Linked DNA regions of Homo sapiens: region 2 is linked to region 1. The links are contacts of gene promoters, found by promoter capture Hi-C in blood cells and fetal thymus (Javierre and others, 2016). All regions are on one chromosome and are shown on one strand. Each heading gives the region's core, a stretch centred on a gene start or on the middle of the fragment in contact. The rest is flanking DNA. Distances are from core to core; before and after follow the strand shown.

Region 1 (6,768 bases), core at 693-3,192:
TCTTTGTTGACTTACCAAAGTGCTTTCAAATTTTCCTCCAACCACCCTATAACATAGATTATTAGATTCAATCTGCTTTATTTTTAATTTTTTTTTTTTTTTTTTTTTGAGACAGAGTCTCACTCTGTCACCCAGACTGGAGTGCAGTGGCGCGATCTCGGCTCACTGCAAGCTCCGCCTCTCGGGTTCACGCCATTCTCCTGCCTCAGCCTCCCGAGTAGCTGGGACTGCAGGCGCCCGCCACCACACCCGGCTAATTTTTTTTTTGTATTTTTAGTAGAGACGGGGTTTCACCGTGTTAGCCAGGATGGTCTTGATCTCCTGACTTCATGATCCGCCTGCCTCGGCCTCCCAAAGTGCCGGGATTACAGGCGTGAGCCACCGCGCCCGGCCCCCAATCTGCTTTATTATATTACCATTTGCTTCGGCTTTATTACACTTACCAAAGCCCTGCCACCCCAGTCGTCCCAGGGCCACTTCAAATCTCTTTATTCATACATCAATGAATATTTTCCCGAACACTTACTATGTGTTACTCAGTATTAGGTACCAGAGGATACAGCAGTGAGCCAGTCAAAATTCCTGCCTGCATGGCGCTTACATTCTAGTTAGGAGGAACCTTCTCCTCAGAGTGCTTCCTGTAAGAATATTTTCCTTAGCCTGTCCTAGTCTGACTCTTCTAATCAGGAATTCCATAATTCCAGACCACCCTTATTAGATAAAGGGTAACATTTGCCTCCGGCCACGCTATGTCTTAACGACGATCAGCCGCTGTGGCGATTGTCTGGTATGCAGCTGTTGAGGCTGTACATTGGCTTCATGTTAACATCTGTTCTCTGTGACACTGTGCAGCTGAATGAGTTGGGTGTCTGTCTCCGGAAGGACGAGACTCCTGTCTGTAGCTAGTTCTGTGTCCTCCCACGCTTCATGAGTGCTTTTCGGTGATTCTTACATCAAAATAAGCCCAGTGGATAACCAGAAAACCTAGCAAAACAAAAACAAAAACAAAAAACAAAAAACAAAAACCAGGGAAAACAATTTCGTAGAAGTGCGTTAAACAATGTCGGAGCTAGAAGAGACCTTCGAGATGTAGCCCCACTGCCTTTTATAGACAAGAAAACTGAGACCCAGAGAGGTTACCTAAGTCGCCTCCGGTCACACAGCCCAACTGAAGAATGTGGACCGGTGATCACATCTAATTTACAATCACACTGGGGGTGTTCCTCCTAAAATTTAACGTCTAAATGAGATCCAGCCGCGTCACCGCTTCTACCCACGCTCCCCCCTCCCCCGCCCACCGTCCTTTCTGGTATTTATTCTACGTCGCTCTTTCTTGAAGAGTCAAGTCGTTAAAATACCAAGTGGAGGCATTCTACAGACAGGTGTCCACACCACGGCCACGCGGACACGGAGTCGGGGAATCTGGATCCCCACATGCCCGCCGAGAACTCTCCAGCTCCCGCTTACAAAGTTTCCTCGCATGGTACGTTCATCTTTCCGATCCCTAGCTGCGAGGCCGAGACGCCTGCTGCTGTGGCCTCCGACGAAGTTCGGAGATGCCCTTTCCTTGCGAAAGCTGGGCCCGGTAGCGTCGGCCGCGGGGTCGGGCGTTCTCGGGCCTGGCGGTCGGCGAGGGAGCGCCGGGCGCGGGGCGGGGCGGCCCCTAGGCGCGCGCTGCCCACCCGGGCTGCAAGAGCCGCGGGCCCGCGAGCCCCGGCTTGGAGCAAGAGGCGCGCGCGGGCCGTGGGGGCTGGGCCGAGGCGGAGCGCGAGGCGGCGGCGGTGGCGGGAGGCGCCGCGGGACGAGGCAGCGGCCCCCGCCCCCCGAAGCCCGTCCCCGCGCGGGGCTGGGGAGCTCAGGGCGGGGAAGCCGCGGGGCCGCGCCACGTCCCTCGCCCGCCCCAGAGCGGGTTTTACAGGCGGCTCCAGTCTGGGGGCTTTTGTGTCTGCGACTCGGGAGCGGCGAGAGAGCAGACCTCCTCCTCAGAGGGCGCTGTGAGTGTGCCGCCAGGGCCGGGCCGCGAGCCTCCTGCTTCCCCTGTCAGCGGCTCCTGAGGCGGCGGCGAAGAAGAAGGAGTGGGAGGAGGCGGCGGCGGCGGCGGCGCACTCGCCCTCAGCACATGCCGGCCCCGGGTGGGGGGCCGCCCCCAGGCCGCGCTCCCGGCCACCGCCGCTGAGCCCCGCCGGTGCCCGCACGCCGCCCCGCCGCCCCGCCGCCCCGAGGCCTCGTCCTCCTCCCAAACTTTGCAAAGTCGGCCCGCGTCCCCACCGCCCTCGGCCGTGCCTCGGCTCCGAGGCTTGCCTCGCAGCCGCAGCGGCCCCGCGAGGAGGAGGAGCCGCCGCCGCAGCATCAAAGAGACCGAATTCCCGCGGCCTGGGGGGGAGTCATGCTTTGCGGTCTGTAATGTCAGCAGAACAGGAGAAGGATCCCATTTCGCTGAAGAGAGTTCGAGGTAACCGAGAAGGGTGCCGGATTGGGGGAACCGGGGTGAGTGAGGTGCGCGGGGCCCCGTGCCCGGCCGCCGGGAGGCCATGGGGCTCTGTCCGGGCCTAAGTCCGCGCAGCCCGCGTCCCGCCGGCACCCCGGGGCCGAGGCTGCGATCCGAGCGCGCGGCCCGGGCGCCCGCTGGCCCCCGAGACATCCGCGCGGATCCCTCGCCTCCCGACTTTGTGTTCGGAGGCAGTTGGAGCCGCAAGCAGCATCCTTTCTTACCCCCTCCTCACCCACCTCTCCTCGTTCTCAAGACAGCACAATAGGCACCTCAAAGGGTGAAAAACAGACACCCCCTGGCAGAGACCTCGAACGGTGCCCACCCCCTCAAAAAAAGTAAGTTGGAGTACACAAGAGTTGATGCTGTTGAAGAAGGGCTCCTGGGCTTTCACGTCTCTCCTGGCCCCCTTCTCGCCCCCCCACCCCGGCAAAGGCAACAAATATTCAGTTTATTTTCCGTAGGTTTAAGAGGAGAAGCTACAAATTCAGAAGGCATTTTCTCTGTTGGTTTATGGATAAGATATTATCTAAAATCAGTGTTATGCATGGTTGATTTTCTTCTTTCTTGCGCACTGGTTAGGAATTTTCCTTTCGTGTTACTATCATCTAAGAAAAATCAGAGGGAACCATGTGTCAAACAAAAGATACTGCATATAAGTTCACAAAAGTCAAATGCCACCCGGAAATTGGGGGATGCCTTTTAGCTCTTAATAAGGTTAAGACTGAAAGTTCTAGAGTTGGAGTAGTACTCACTGTTCATTAAGCAAATATTTATTGAACATCTACTATGTGCTAGACACTGTTCTTGTTACTGGGATACAGCAGTGAACAAAGCAGATAGACAATCTTCATCCAGTAGGAGTTCACCCTCTTGTGGGATAAACAAATGATAAACAGTAGATACAGAATGTCAAATCGTAGGTGGTATGGTGGACAACAAAACAGGAATAGAGGAGAGGAAATATGTGTGGGGATGGGAAGTATGGATTGTATGTAAGGTGATCATGAAAGGGCTCACCTGGTAGATAATGTTTGAGCAAAGACCTAAAGGAAATGATAGAGCCAGGGCCATATGAATTCACGTGGGAAGAGCAGTCTCTGAAAAGCAACAGCAAATGCAAAGCCCCTGTGTCTGGAATATGCCCAGTGTGTGCAATCAACAGCAAAGAAGCTATTGTAACTGCAGCAAAGTGAGCAAGGAAAGAGTCCTGTGACAGGGGCTAAGGAGTAGGATCAAGAATTATTTGATTCTTGAAAAGTGAGCAAAGGTGATAGATATCATTAAGAGTACATTTTTAAATTATAGCATTTTAATAGTAAAATTACAGTCGTTCAGTAGTCTTAATGCTGCCGGCTATAGGATGATTGTGTATTAGAGGGCCTGGTGTGCCATTTAAAAGACTTTGGCTTTTACTCTGAGAAAAGGTCTGCAGAGTTTTGAGCATAAGAGTGAGTGATCTGACATTTTAAACAGGGCATCTTAAGCTGCTGTGCGGAGAATAGACTGTAGAGAAAAGGCTGAAGCAGGGGAGACTAGTAGGGAGGTGATTGCAATAGTCATCCAAACAGGGTAAACAGGGTAAAATGCTTTATAAATCAGTAAGTAGGAAGGTAAATTTCCGGCTGACTTAAGTGATGTAGAGATGAAGGACCACAGTCATTCATTTTTGTTTTTGTTCAATGTGACTAGAAATTAAACATGTATAGAACTAGCTTGTGACACACAATCCAAAAGACATCCACTCAAGAGTATTTTGGTAGAAAATGATTTTCTTAGCCATTTAAGAGAAAACATAATTTAGAGAATATTGTTTTTAAAGGCTTAATATCAGCACAACCTTTAATTTGGTGAAATATTTTAATTGTCTTTTTCTGTTTGTGGTTGTGAGTTGCCAAAGCCTTTAAGGAATAGACCTTCCTGAGATACAATTATTCCCCTGATATTTGTGCTGTATAATTTTGCCTACTATTATAAATTGTTTTGGGGTTAAAGGAAAAGAAAGAGCTATCAAGTTTATACCTTTGAACTGAATTATCAGTCCTAATCAAATTTAATTCTAAATAAAATGGATGAGTGTTTTATTGTGGGTCAAGAACACAGATATATCTTCATTTTGTTCCAACTGCTGTTAAGTTCTATGGCGTAGCTATTGGGGTTGGCTCCGGTGTCAGCTCAAGAATATTCTGAGAGTTAAGTACCAGAATAAAAGACAAAACACTTTTTAAAATAAAAAGTCAGTATTTTTATGTTATGGGGAGAATTTTCTTAATGTCATTTTGTAATAATTAGAACATTCATTAAAAAATTTTTTGGAATATTTTATGATTAGCTCTTCTGAAGCACCATTCTGCTGAACTTCATTGCCCTGGAGCTTTTTGTTATTTAATGTAATTTATATCATCAGACTGCATGCAGGATGTGGTGTTTGCAGGGCATAAACTCTGGAGCAGTGCTTTTCAAACTGTTTCCCATCTGCTGATGTGATAGAGACAGACCTTTTTAATGGTTGTGTATTTATTTTATATGTATTAAAAGAGTCACCAAATACCTTGCTTAGGATAAGGCTAAGATACATATGTGTATAAATACACACATATAGCAATTTAAATGAATTATTAACACACATATAGCAATTACATGAATTATTAAGAAAGTAATATTATAGGTAGAACTCAGATATGGCAAAACTAAAACATGAATGACTGAGGACTTTACAGTAGCATGCTCTGCAGACCAAAAGCATCATAATCACTTGTGATGCTTATTAAAATATAGATTCGTGGATCTACGGAATCAGGACTTCTGGGATCCACAGAGTTGGGACTTCTGCATCTTTAACAAGATCCCCAGGTGCTCCTTATGCATACTGAAGTTTGAGAAATGCCACTAATAGACCTAGATTATAAAGGTGTGAGTAGACCAGAAGCAGCTGGCTGTGGTCTTCCAAACTGTCCTTATATTTTAACAATAGATTTAGAATTACTCTTTAGTGACACAGTATCTTACTCCTATTTTCTACCAGTTCTTAACACTCCACCCCCAAACCTTCACCTTTTGATTATAAGACAGATCTATGAGGACAGGTACTATGTCTTGATTATCTTATTTGCCTTGCCCATAGTAAATGTCAAATGAATGAATGAGTGAATACATGAATTATGCTGCTTTCTGATAGTCCATTTCCCCTCATACTACTTTTACTTGCCCTTTTCCCTTAGAATGTCAACTGCCATCGTTATTTTAACCAATACTCCCATTCTCCAGTATTCCTAGAACTCTTTTAGGCATTGATCTGATGGCAATATTCATTCATTTATTCAACAAATATTTATAGAGCAATCACAGTGCCATATAGTGGGAATGCACTAATTAAGATATGACACCTGGCTGGGCGCAGTGGCTCACGCTTGTAATCCCAGCACCTTGGAAGGCTGAGGCAGGTGGATTACTTGACTCCAGGAGTTTAAGAACAGCCTGGACGACAACCTGTCTCTACTAAAAGTACGAAAAATTAGCTGGGCGTGGTGGCATGTGCCTGTGGTCTTAGCTACGTGGGAGGCTGAGGTGGGAGAATCACCTGAGCCCAGGGAGGTTGAGGCTGCAGTGAGCTGAGATCGCACCATTCCACTCCCGCCTGGGCAATTGGAGTGAGACCCTATCTGCCCCCACCAAAAAAAAAAAAAAAAAAAGGTATGACACCTGTCTTCAAGAAATTGTTAAGTCTAGTACAGGACAGTGACAAATAAATAGCTACAAATAGCATGATAAGGGCTGTGATTATTTATAGGAAATAAAGGAACACATCTTTTGGGGAATCAAGGAAGGAGAAGAATTCTAAGAAGTAGTGAGTGTTCTTTTGTCTTAAGTGATGTACAGAAAGCATCAGAGGAGATAAAAATGTGAGAAAGGGTCTAGGAGGTCTCTTGTGATTTTGAGAAGGCAGTTTTTAGGAGGAAACCACATTTCAAAGTGTTGAACATTAACGTGGGACCAGGTGTGGTGGCTTATGCCTGTAATCCCAGCACTTTGGGAGGCTCAGGCAAGAGCATCACTTCAGCGCAGGAGTTTGACACCAGCCTGGGCAACATATGGAGAACCCATCTCTACAAAGTTTAAAAATTAGTGGTGGTGTGCACCCGTAGTCCCAGCTACTCAGGAGGCTGAGGTAGGAGGATCCCTTGAGCCCAGGAGGTCGAGGCTGCAATGGGCCATGTTCACACCAAGACACTCCAGCCTAGGTGACAGAGCAAGACCCTGTCTCAAAACAAAAGAAAACA
Region 2 (6,340 bases), core at 364-2,863, 240 kb before region 1:
AAACAAAAATTTAACTGAAAGAAACATCCACATCTAGTAAGGGATTATTAATATTCTAAATTCCGATAGCTTATGTTTCAGGATAATTTGTTTACCTCTTTCCCAGTGCTGTTCCCTAAATGATGTTTTTATCTTATTCAGGCTGTTTTAATGATGGATTCAGAAAAAAGAATAAGATTACTTCAGTTTGTCACTGGCACATCTCGGGTGCCTATGAATGGATTTGCTGAACTATACGGTAAGGATTTTCCATAGATCATTAAAAAAATGGAATAATGCGTATTGTCTTTTTCATGGCTGACGAATCCGCAAGCTTCCATCATTTACTAACACTTAGCTTAATTTTAAAAAGAATTAAGATTTTGAAAGTGATACCATTAGGGACACTGGAGTAGGCTAAAATATATTTACACCTTCTAATCAGATAATAAAGGGGAAAACTGGAAACATCAAATGACTTGAGTCACTTTCCGTTCTTTAACTTCAAATTCTATGCCCAGTATGCATCCGTTACAGAAAAAGCATTACCTTGGCCGGGAGGGGTGGCTCACACCTGTAATCCTGCACTTCAGGAGGCCGAGGCAGGCAGATCACTTGAGGTCAGGAGTTCAAGATGAGCCTAGCCAACACAGTGAAACCCCGTCTCTACCCAAAAATACAAATATTAGCTGGGCTTGGTGGTGCACACCTGTAGTCCCAGCTACTTGGGAGGCTGAGGCAGGAGAATTGCTTGAACCCAGGAGGCGGACGTTGCAGTGAGCCAAGATCGCACCACTGTAGTTCAGCCTGGGTGACAGACTGAGACCCTGTCTCAAAAAAAAGAAAAAGCATTACTTCTAATGTGATAGTTCAGGATAGCATTTGAAGTTTCACAGAATGTTACTAAGTGTATTTTTAAAAAAATAAAAACAGAGTCATGGTTGAATACCTTTAAGGAAATGCTGGACTAAACAAAGTTAAATGGATTTCTTCAGGACTTCTGTAGAACCTTTACTGTTAGAAGAAAACAAAAGCATTGTTTCCCAAACTTATTTGATCATGAAATCTTTTTTTTTTTTTTTTTTCAAGATAGGGGTGGAGAATCTCATTAGGCTACTATTTTTCATTTCTTGTGGGAGGCAGCAGGACTGGGAAGACTACATATCTCTTGATTTTCAGAATAGTTAATGCAGTTTTCGGTAAAGTAAGATTCTATGTATTCTATCAAATTATTTTCCAGTTGATGTATAAAACTGGAAGTGTGTTTTGTTTAAAAGTGCCATTTCTGATGTAGATTACAGCAACTTTTCTCATATTGATTCATATTCTGTTTATTGGAATGATATTTACTTGCTTTTAAGGAAACCAAGAATCCAAGAATAAATCTTTTACAAAGGATGTACCTAAAGTAGGAGGCCTACTCAGAACAATGAGTAAGATTAGGATTGACCTGGGGACTACAAGTCGGGACTGCTGCCTAGGAAATTGCTAAGCTGAATTTTTTGTGCAAATAGAAGCTGACCATATGATGGGATAGCTAAACCTTTCTTCTCCATGGCAAATCTGGTCAGCTTGCCAAGCCTCATTAATATGAGTTTGCAGAACTGATCAAGCAGCTGCTACCTCTCTACCTAGAGTAACCACTCAAAGTGGTTAGCTTTGCCAGTAACCAATTCAGTCATTCTTTGCCTAATTGGACTTGATAGCCTCTTTCTTTTTCATGGTTTCACCTGACTCCCCTTCCTCCATCTTCTCTACTTTAACAAGTTAGTAGCGAAAAATGAAGGCAGGGCAAACAAATGCCCCTTTCCGTCTCTGGCCTCTCTTCTCTCTTCTATGTAACCCAGCCCCATAGCCATCCACTGATTTCATGCACTGTTTGAAATTTGGGGCAAATATCCCACACATAGAGCCAGAGTTGTTTGTGTTAGAATACAAAGTCAAATTCTTAGAATACAAAGTCAAATTCTTATGTATTTATAGGAAGAAGTTATTTCAAAATGTTAAAATTACAATATTAGATAGCCAATAAAAAGTATGTTAAGGCGGCTGGGTGCGGTAGCTCATGCCTGTAATCTCAACATTTTGGGAGACTGAGGCAGGCAGATCACCTGAGGTCAGGGGTTTGAGACCAGCCTGGCCAACATGGTGAAACCCCATGTCTAGTAAAAATACAAAAATTAGCTGGGTGTGGTGGCACACTCCTGGAATCTCAGCTTCTTGGGAGGGCTGAGGCATGAGAATCATTTGAACCCAGGAGCCAGAGGTTGCATTGAGCCGAGATCATGCCATTTTACTTCAGCCTGGGTGACAGAGTGAATGGCTTGTGGCCAGGAGTTCAAGACCAGCCTGGGCAACATAGTGAGACCCCCATCTCTACAAAATGAATTTTTTTAACAGTTAGCCAGGCGTGGTGGTGCACACCTGTAGTCCTGGCTACTCAGGAGACTAAAGCAAGAGGATCACTTGAGCCCAGGAGCTTGAGGCTACAGTGAGCTTGAATCGTACCACTGCACTCCAGTCTGGGTGACAGAGGGATACCCCATCTCTAAAATATAAATAAATAAACCAGATTAGTTCCCTGTGTGTGTGTAGGAACTAGTGTACACTAGAAAAAGTTTTGATATGCCTGGAGATCCTTGTAGAGAGTAAATGAAACCAAATAAATTCTTCCTTATAGGTTCAAATGGACCACAGTCATTTACAGTTGAACAGTGGGGTACTCCTGAAAAGCTGCCAAGAGCTCATACCTGGTAAGCAGTTGTTTGGACCTTGATAGAACAAAGCCTCAGAGAGTGAGATTCCTCTGTTAGTCTAGCCACAGCAGGGCTAGTCTCCTCTGTGTTATGTCGGTGGCAGGTATGGATTATGGGTAAGAAGGAGTTGGTGACACCCAACGAACAGGTGTTTTGTTACCAAGTTGGCCCAAGCTTGAAGTCCAGGTAGCTGAAGATCAGAGAGACCCACCTAAACTGAGTGATGAGTGATGGGCTGTCCCAAGACAGGCTAGAACATTCCATCTTGGAGGCTGAAGTGGCAGAGAACTCAGACATTTGGAAGATGTGGTGGGGGCAGCACTCCACAAGGAGTTGTGCAGAGTATCCATGCCCAGAACCCAGTCCTACGTCTTACTTCTACCCCTGGTGAAAAGACATATTTTGGTGGTGTTGGAACATTCTCATCAAGAATAGCAGCATTGCTCTGTTTGCTGTGGTGGTACTTGCTTTGTCAGTGTCTTTCATAACCACTTCCTCTCTGTTCTTTCAGTTTTAATCGCCTGGACTTGCCACCTTATGAATCATTTGAAGAATTATGGGATAAACTTCAGATGGCAATTGAAAACACCCAGGGCTTTGATGGAGTTGATTAGATTACAAATAACAATCTGTAGTGTTTTTACTGCCATAGTTTTATAACCAAAATCTTGACTTAAAATTTTCCGGGGAACTACTAAAATGTGGCCACTGAGTCTTCCCAGATCTTGAAGAAAATCATATAAAAAGCATTTGAAGAAATAGTACGACAACTTATTTTTAATCACTTTTAAATAATGTGTTGCATTTACACAGTTGTTTCATGCTGTCTTTAGAGTTAGGTGCCTGCCTAAAGCCAGGCACCACCACACCTGGCTTTAGAGTTCACACAATAGGATATAAGTCCTGTATGACTTAAATAGTGAATTTTGTCCTTAACATTTACCTCTTGTATAGTATCTGCCAGGCAGTTTTTTCTTAAACTACTGAGATGATAACTGTGAAATATTTGTGATACGTGTCATGTGTGAAAAGTTTGATGCATTTTGAGATGGAAAACTGAAATTTGGAAAAAGAAATACTTTACTATTGAGTAAACTACAATATATTTAGTGCTACTCGCAGCTATTTATTATTTTGTAGACCTGCCTTATGCACCTTACTGCCTAGATTTTTGGGAAAAAACTTTGGAAAGTGTGTTACCTATATTTCTAGCCAACTAACTCACAGAAAAACTGTTTACTTCTTCACTTTCGAAGTATTTGGCTTTTGTTAATATGCAGTTTTACTAAACAGATGGTTCATAAGACATGTGAAGCAAATTCATATTTGCAATGGGTAAAAAGTATTAAAGCCTTTCTCTTGCCTGCATATCCTATTGACCATTGGTATAGTCATCACTTTTTCATATTTTAGTGTAGTTAGAAGAATTCCTTCTTCAAACATTAAAGATCCACAAAGCAGTATTTCTAAATATGCCTTGAAGAACTAAATGAAGTGTATAGCACTTGCCTTTACTAGATATTCTTTACACTTGTACAATTATGTAGTAAATGTATGTTTACAGGGTTTATCATGTTTACAGATTAAGCTAATTTCTGTAGTCGCATTTTTATATTTTTAGTATCACTCTAGTAAAAAAACCAAATAATTTGTTTAAAATAACCAAAGAGTTGTTATAATGCATAATTTGTATTAAATTTATTACTATTTCTTATGCCTTTTAAAATACTGTTTACTATGAAGACAATGTTTTTAATTACAAATCCAGAATTCTGTAGGCAAAATGCTACAGTTCATATCTTCCTTTAACCAAACTGAAGTACATAAAGACCATGTACATGTATTCATCAAACGTTTATTGAATGCTGCGTGCCTAGCGCTGTGCTATGCTCTGGGGTAAGAGTTGTCAGCTTCAGAGAAGCTGAGTCCTGATCCTCAAGGAACTTGCAAATGTGTCTATGAATTTGTAAAACAATCAAAAGTAGGCGTAAGCAGAATAAGGCAAAAGGGAAAGTGTTCTAGGTTCCAGCACACCTGCAAAGATAAAGTGTGCCAAGACTGTATTTATATTTCATACTTATATTGTTTCATCCTTATATTGGAATGATTATATAGAAAATGCTCTTAAAAAGATTAAACCTATTTCTCAGTATGGTATCTTGGTGATTTAGGAATAATTGTAAATATATGTTACGAATCTTCTTAAATATATATATATACACACCCTGTGAGAACTGTAAAAAGTACCTCTGGTTCTTGGTTTAAGTTTGTTGGGGTATAACATGATGAGTACTCATTAGCACCTGATAGAAATCTGAAATGTGACAGTAGCAAAACCACTTTCTACTTTCCAAACACCACAGCATCAGCATGGTTTAGGGGAAGCAATTCACAGATTAATGTACCCTGCGTTTTGTCTTCACCATTGTCAACCAGCAGTCAAGGATGAGCACCAGGTATAGTCCTGGTTTGATATCTCACCAGCCATGTGAACTGAAGCAGCTTACTTAACCTCTCTGGATTCATATTTCTTCATCTGTCAAATGAGAGTAATCATGCCCACCCTCATTGTCATGCCAGATTGTCAGAAGTTCCAGACAGATGAGAAAGCAAAAAGTACTTTGTAAAGTGTTATACAATCAGAAGGTGCTTTGTGCTGACCGTCAGATTGTGTCAAGTCAGGTGTGCAAATTGACCACACTCCCAAAGAATCATTTAAAAGTAAAGTGACTTCTAAGAGACAAGGAAGTAGGAACATTTCTGATATTAAATATATAAATAATATGGATACACATGTGTATATCTGTATATGGATCTTACCATCATAATTCATTTTCTTCATATCAGCAAAGTAATAGTAATGTGGGCCAATGCATTTTGGAAATGTCCTCATTATGTAGAATGGAATGTGAAAATTATTTTTGTTAAAACAGGATTTTGCCACAATTATTTAAATATTATGTTTGTGAACTATCTAAGCATGAGAAAATACAAAGCTTTCTTTGTATCTGGCTGATACTCATTTGGATGATTCTGTGACTCATAGAACATGATGTTAAATGAGACCAGACTCAACTGCCACCAGTCCCCAGCTGCAGACCTTCATCCCCTTCATCTCCCACTAGGGGCTCGTGGTCTGGAAGAAACATCTATCAAGCAACACAGCCCCTTATCCCAGATAGAAAAGTGTCTCAAATGCATTCTACTGCGGGACAGTCAGTAGGATCATTTTCATAAAGCAAGGACATCATATGTTTCTAGAAATTACAAGCATATAACTTTAGCCTACAATCTCTTATTAAAAATTTTTAACAAAATTGTATTACAAATGCATTTCATCAGAACTCAAATTTAAATGGTGTTTGTTTTGGGTTTTTATTTATAATGCTGAAGTTATTCCATATAAGTATCAAGTTAAACACAATTCATTTTGATTATAAACTATTTGACTTTTTAAAATCTTCTGACACAGTAAATATATATATCAAGATTGATGTATCAAAATTTATTGCACACTTTAAAGTGTAAAATCATTTTTTAAAATCTTGAATCCACAAATAAAGTTCTATTCTGATTTTAAAAAACAAAACAAAACTGTGGTTCAT

What was found. Contacts are between HindIII fragments. The CHiCAGO score rates a contact against its expected background, and 5 or more counts as called.
Region 2: a contact is called between a fragment that was not itself captured here and the fragment with the promoter of PYGO1 in region 1, in 1 of 17 cell types (M1 macrophages). The highest score is 5.3, in M1 macrophages.

The regions. Positions count from the first base shown.
Region 1 is chr15:55,583,519-55,590,286 of GRCh38, reverse strand. PYGO1 (pygopus family PHD finger 1) reads left to right here and starts at 1,942. Exons shown (of 3, transcript NM_001367806.1): 1 at 1,942-2,452. The coding sequence starts at 2,404. LOC124903497 (a long non-coding RNA gene) reads right to left here and starts at 1,737. Exons shown (of 2, transcript XR_007064647.1): 1 at 1,468-1,737; 2 at 1-984. RefSeq lists silencers at 1,921-2,040, 2,121-2,170. The HindIII fragment of the contact is 18,242 bases long and covers 1-6,768 here.
Region 2 is chr15:55,826,906-55,833,245 of GRCh38, reverse strand. It overlaps NEDD4 (NEDD4 E3 ubiquitin protein ligase), which reads left to right. Exons shown (of 29, transcript NM_006154.4): 27 at 142-238; 28 at 2,660-2,732; 29 at 3,247-6,324. The coding sequence ends at 3,349. Among named protein-coding and RNA genes, the nearest start is that of PRTG, 87 kb to the right of the region's middle. The HindIII fragment of the contact is 2,596 bases long and covers 316-2,911 here.